Linked DNA regions of Homo sapiens: region 2 is linked to region 1. Evidence: promoter capture Hi-C in human tissues and cell types (Jung and others, 2019). All regions are on one chromosome and are shown on one strand. Each heading gives the region's core, a stretch centred on a gene start or on the middle of the fragment in contact. The rest is flanking DNA. Distances are from core to core; before and after follow the strand shown. Region 1 holds the start of MCM2 (minichromosome maintenance complex component 2). Region 2 overlaps HMCES (5-hydroxymethylcytosine binding, ES cell specific).

Region 1 (2,915 bases), core at 1-2,500:
AGGCAAGAATGCCATCGATTCATCTGCTCCCAGCTCCCAAAGCCAGGCCACCAGGCACACAATGGGCTCTCTGCAAAACTATCTGCTGAGTCCAGGGCCTTGAATGAAATTACCTTTCCATGCCATCTCCAATGAGCTCCTCTCCATCCTCTTCTTCCTCCAGGGGCCCCTCTGTGCCTAGGAGCCCCTCGGACTCATCCTCAAATGGTGGAAGGTCACGGCCAGGGCTGGAGGTGAGGGCATCAGTACGCCGGGAGCTTCGGCCAGGGCTGGAGGTGAGAGGATCATTGCCTCGCCGACGCTGGGCCGGGCTGGATGCCATGGTGAAGGATTCCGATGATTCCTGCAAGAGAAGGTGCGGTTGTCAGAAACCTAGGAAGCTGGTGAGGCATGATACAGCTTCCTTTTTACCATCAGGGGCCTTCCCTTCTTTCTCTCCACCTGTGACTCTTGTCCTCCAACACACCAAACCCCTTCCAGCCTCCAGATCTTTGCCCTTGCTGTTCTCTCACCTGGAATGCTCTCAGCTGAGCAATCTGAGTCAGTGGCTTCCAAACAAATAGAAGCCAGCTCAAATATCGGGGTCACCCACATCACCGTGCTTTCTCCATGAAAAACCACTGAGGTTATGTCATTTGCCTATTTACCTGTTTACTGTCTATTATCTCCCCTTAAGCATTAGACCTATTTCAGCACACACAGTGCGCAAGGTATTGTGATAGAGATGGCATAGAAGAGCCACCAAAACAAGAGGTCTGGAACTCAGATGTGGAACAGACAGTATACAAGACAAAGGGACAAGAAGGTAATACAAAAGTAAGTGTAGTGTTTGGAACAAGGATCATTGGGAAATTAAAAAAAAAAAAAGTTTAAAGGAGTGTAGTGAAATGGGGGCCTGTCTTTTGTACGCTCAGCGCCACACAGATGGCGCCCAATAAGTATGTGTGGGGTGAATAAAGGACAGAGGCTGAACGGGCCGAGCTCGCCTTAGGGAGCCCAGGGCCCCAGGTCAGTGGTAGGTAGGCGAGTCGCCTCACGCAGGGTGCAGGCGAGAAAGTAGCTGCGCCCCAGAGCCTGGGGCCCAGCCTCACCCAGAGCGCCGCCCTGGGCCGGGGCCAGAGTACGGGAAGCGCGCAGCCTCCGCACCCATGTCCCCGGCGCCCGCCCGCCACGCGCCAGCGCGCTCACCGCCATAGCAGTACCACGATCCTCTCCGCCACTACAGCAACAACCAGGTTTCGCGCGAAAAGTGGTTCACGTGACCCACCAAAGCCCGGGAAGAGCCCTACGGAACGCGACGTCATGACGTCGGCGTCCACTGGCGACCAGAAGGGACACGGAGGGGCGGGCCAGAGGGTCCGGTCCCGCCTACAACGCCCGAGGCGCTCCGCCCAGAGCCCGGAGGTGTGCGGCCCGGCGCTGTGCGCGTGCGCTCGCCTGCGCTGTGGTGGGAGCTGGAGCGGAGGTAGAAGCTGAGGCTCCAGGGGACCCGACGACACTTGCTGGCTGCGTGACCTCGGTCACACCAGGGCCATTTTGCTGACAAGACAACAGAGGCCGGGCGCGGTGGCTCACGCCTGTAATCCCAGCACTTTGGGAAGCCGAGGTGGGCGGATCACAAGCTCAGGAGTTCGAGACCAGCCTGACTAACATGGTGAAACCCAGTCTTTACTAAAAATACAAAAATTAGTTGGGCATGGTGGCACGGGCCTGTAATCCCAGCTACTCGGGAGGCTGAGGCAGAAGAATCGCTTGAACCTGGGAGGTGGAGGTTGCGGTGAGCCGAGATCCCGCCACTGCACTCCAGCCTGGGTGACAGAGTGAGACTCCGTCTCAAAAAAAAAAAAAGACAGCAGAGGTTCAGAGCCTGGTTTTCTGACGCTTCTTACCGTCTTAGGAGCACAATGGTTTAACTTCTCCCAAAGCTCAAAGGCTCAATACTTCAAGCAGCTGGACAACTCTGGGATTTTGTAGGAGGTCACATCTGAGGCTTTAGTAGGAGTTATCTTTGCCCAGGGGAGCGAAGACGCAGGGAGGATGTTACAGATAGAAGGATGCCATGTGCAAAGCTGCAGAGGTCATGGCAGGGCCCGGATGTGCAAGCCCCTCCCTAAGAACTAACCCTAGGAGCTTATGATGCCGGGCAACAGACAAGACTTGAGGGAGAGAAAATCCGGATCAAAAAAGAGCTAGATGTTTTTCTAGAGAGTTTGACTATTCTGTATTCTGAAAGCAATGGAAGGCCATGGAAGCATTTTGAGCAGGGTGAGACGTGAACTAGTGTGGGTTTTAGAATCCCTCTGGCTGCTACCAGGTGGAAGTGGATTGAACGAGGTTGAAGGCAGCAAACGAGGAGGTTGCTGTGGTTCTTGTCTAGTTCCAGGCAGCCTTAGTGAGCAGAGGCAGGGCTGAATCGCAACCCTCTTAGCCAGGCACTTTGTGCAGTGAACAAGCATCTCTGCCTGGGACCCAGGGTAGGGAGGCAGGAGTGATGGAGAGAACTGGAAATACAAGATGTTTAGGAGGTGGAATCTTTTTTTTTTTTTTGAGACAGAGTCACTCTGTCACCCAGGCTGGAGTGCAGTGGTGCAACCTCAGCTCACTGCAACCTCCACCTCCCAAGTTCAAGCGATTCTCGTGCCTTAGCCTCCCGAGTAGCTGGGATTAGAGATGCACGCCATTGTGCCCGGTTAATTTTTGTATTTTTAGTAGAGATGGGATTTCACCATTGTTAGCTAGGCTGGTCTCCAACTCCTGACAAGTGGATCCGCCTGCCTTGGCCTCCCATAGTGCTAGGATTACAGGCGTGAGCCACCACGCCCGGCCAGGAAGTGGGGTCTATAGGTGTTGGTGATTGAGGACAGCAAAAGAGGCATGCAGGATGACACCAGGATCCTGGCTTAGCTAGGTGGATG
Region 2 (2,915 bases), core at 301-2,800, 1.7 Mb before region 1:
ACGGGGTCTCACTATATTGCCCAGGCAGGTCTGGAACTCCTCAGGTAAAGCTACCCTCCCACCTCTGCCTTCTAAGTGCTGGCATTACAGGCATGAGCCACTGCACCCAGCTGAAGCTTCTTTTTTTTGAAACGCAGTCTCGCCCTGTCACCAAGCTGGAGTGCAGTGGCCCAATCTAGGCTCACTGCAACCTCCACCTCCCAGGTTCAAGTGATTCTCCTGCCTCAGCCTCCCAAGTAGCTGGGATCACTACTTGGGACGGGCCACCACACCCAGCTAATTTTTGTATTTTTAGTAGAGACGGGGTTTCACCATATTGGCCAGGATGGTCTCGATCTGTTGACCTCGTGATCCACTTGCCTCGGCCTCCCAAAGTGCTGGGATTACAGGCGTGAGCCACTGCGCCCAGCCTGAAGCTTCTTAATTATACAAAAGTCCAAGCCTAGCTCTAAATGTTGATTCAGGATGTCTAGATAGGGTCTAGCATTTACATTTTGAAAGAGTTCTTCTCCTGGGGACTCTGAGTCACAGCCAGGTTTGAGAATTGCTGCTCTACACTACCTTGCTGTGTACAAGGAGTATGAGAGCTTTTGATGGTCCAAATTAAAGGGCTGATCATAAAAGGCCACATCCTGAAAGAAAGAGAACACTGACAGAAGACAGAAAGCTCAAAAAGGACTGTACCAGTCACAGGCCCCTACCTTTTTGACCACCAAGTCGACAGGAGCCAGACACTCAGGAGTGTTGTTTCGCGAGTTGTTCACCACAGAAGAGACTGCATGGAAGGTGATGTTCTCTGTTGGGTGGATTAATTTCAGAGCTTCCTGAGTTGAGACTTCACCAAAGTCAAGCCATTTAGAAACTGCCTCCTCTCCATCTAATATGGCAGGCATCCTGGCCAGGGAAGTTAAGACAATGGTTGGGAGAGGTAGCATGAGAATAAGGAGAGAAGGGAGAGAGACTTGAGTCAGCTGATACCTCAAATATCACAAGGGGAGCTTGCCCTCCCTCTGCGCCTCACATGCTGATTGCTGCCATGTGTTCCCTGAGCACAGGGTGACAGGGCACCAGATTCAACACCTGGAGAGCCATGTTATAAAGTTTCATGGCAAAGACAGTGAAGAGTACTAACTGGTCTAGTGTACTCCAGTGTCCACTCTAGTAAATTGGTAAACTTTCTATGACACCCCAGCCTAGAATGAAGGGAAAATAGATCTTGAAAACTTGTCTATCAACAGCAATCTCAAGCCTCACCACCTCTGAAAGACTTACAGTAAGAAAATTGTGAACAAAAGGAAGCCATGCGTCAGAAAAGCAGAGAAGCTGTCAAACATGACTCCTGGTACCCAGAGGATGTAAGGAAAATATACTAGGTTTAGCTTCCAGTTTTATGTCCCAGGCCAATGCAGTGTGGCACACACTTTTTGGGTGGTACAGTTGATTCAGATACAGACAAATGTTCATTTGTCTCCTAAATATATACATAACATATAAAATAATGTTAAATACTGTAATGTATAAAATAATGGTACATTTTTAAATGAATGGTGATTTAGATTAAATGAAATATAATTTTTAAAGGTTAATTACTAAAAGAGAACTACATCACATGAAAGCATATTTTTTTTTTTTTCTTCTTTTTTTTTTTTTTTGAGACAGAGTCTTGCTGTGTTGCCCAGGCTGGAGTGCAGTGGCGTGATCTCCACTCACTGCAAGCTCCACCCCCCGGGTTCATGCCATTCTTCTGCCTCAGCCTCCTGAGTAGCTGGGACTACAGGCACCCACCACCATGCCCGGCTAATTTTTTTTTTTTGAGATGGAGTCTCACTGTGTTGCCCAGGCTGGAGTTCAATGGCATGATCTCGGCTCATTGCAAGCTCCACCTCCCGGGTTCACGCCATTCTCCTGCCTCAGCCTCCCAAGTAGCTGGGACTACAGGCAGCCGCCACCACGTCTGGCTAATTTTTTGTATTTTTTAGTAGAGACAGAGTTTCACCGTGTTAGCCAGGATGGTCTCGATCTCCTGACCTCATGATCCACCCGCCTCAGCCTCCCAAAGTGCTGGGATTACAGGTGTGAGCCACCGCGCCTGGCCATTTTTTTGTATTTTTAGTAGAGATGGGGTTTCACAGTGTTCGCCAGGATGGTCTTGATCTCCTGAACTCGTGATCCACCCACCTCGGCGTCCCAAAGTGCTGGGATTACAGGTGTGAGCCACTGCGCCTGGCCACATGAAAGCATATTTTCACAGATATAGCCTAGGACAAGGCTAAAGCAGGTAATCCTGACAGGTGTCACACTGCATTCTTTTCAGGAGAACTCCAAAAAATCACTTCAGGGAGTACTCAGCTCTGGCAGAAAGTATAAAGGTAGAATACAAGTATAGTCAGTTCTGCCAATGCTTATGTTTAAAATGCAAATCTGTTCCAATGCCACTGATACAGTAGAGAGCAATTGGAGCACAATGCAAATTTTGTGTTTGCTTATGCACAGTTTCATCTGTGAGAAACACAAGGTGAACACAGAAAACTGCACCCAGATGAACTGAGCCACAAAATGCACCCATCTCAAACACTGACTGCTACTTTGGCTCACTGCATACTATTTTACAAAATTGTGTTTTGCTCTTCTTTTGCCTTTCTGAACTTTTCTATATATATATATATATATATATATAAAGATGCACATTTAACATCTCAAACATGTCTAAGCTTCCTGGCTCAAAACATGGTAGGCAATGCATGTGAATGGAGACATTTTAAATATTGAAAAGAAGCTTGAAATAGTAAAAGATCCTGGAAGAAAAATGAGAACATGTGATTATTTCCTGAGCAAAGGATATCAAGGAGTCCACATCAGTGATGATGCTACAAAAAAAAAATGACCATGGCTGGAACAACTTCAAGAAGTACTCC

Evidence for each region. Contacts are between HindIII fragments. The study calls those that stand out against the background at their distance.
Region 2: a fragment that was not itself captured here is called in contact with the fragment with the promoter of MCM2 in region 1 in 1 of the 25 tissues and cell types used here (stomach).

What each region holds. Positions count from the first base shown.
Region 1 is chr3:127,596,746-127,599,660 of GRCh38, reverse strand. It overlaps MCM2 (minichromosome maintenance complex component 2), which reads right to left and starts at 1,250. Exons shown (of 16, transcript NM_004526.4): 1 at 1,189-1,250; 2 at 114-343. The coding sequence starts at 1,194. It also overlaps a transcript of TPRA1 not described here. RefSeq lists a silencer at 952-1,111 and enhancers at 1,142-1,261, 615-1,572. The HindIII fragment of the contact is 12,111 bases long and covers 1-2,915 here.
Region 2 is chr3:129,299,929-129,302,843 of GRCh38, reverse strand. HMCES (5-hydroxymethylcytosine binding, ES cell specific) reads right to left here. Exons shown (of 7, transcript NM_020187.3): 6 at 702-894. Among named protein-coding and RNA genes, the nearest start is that of H1-10-AS1, 15 kb to the left of the region's middle. The HindIII fragment of the contact is 3,010 bases long and covers 46-2,915 here.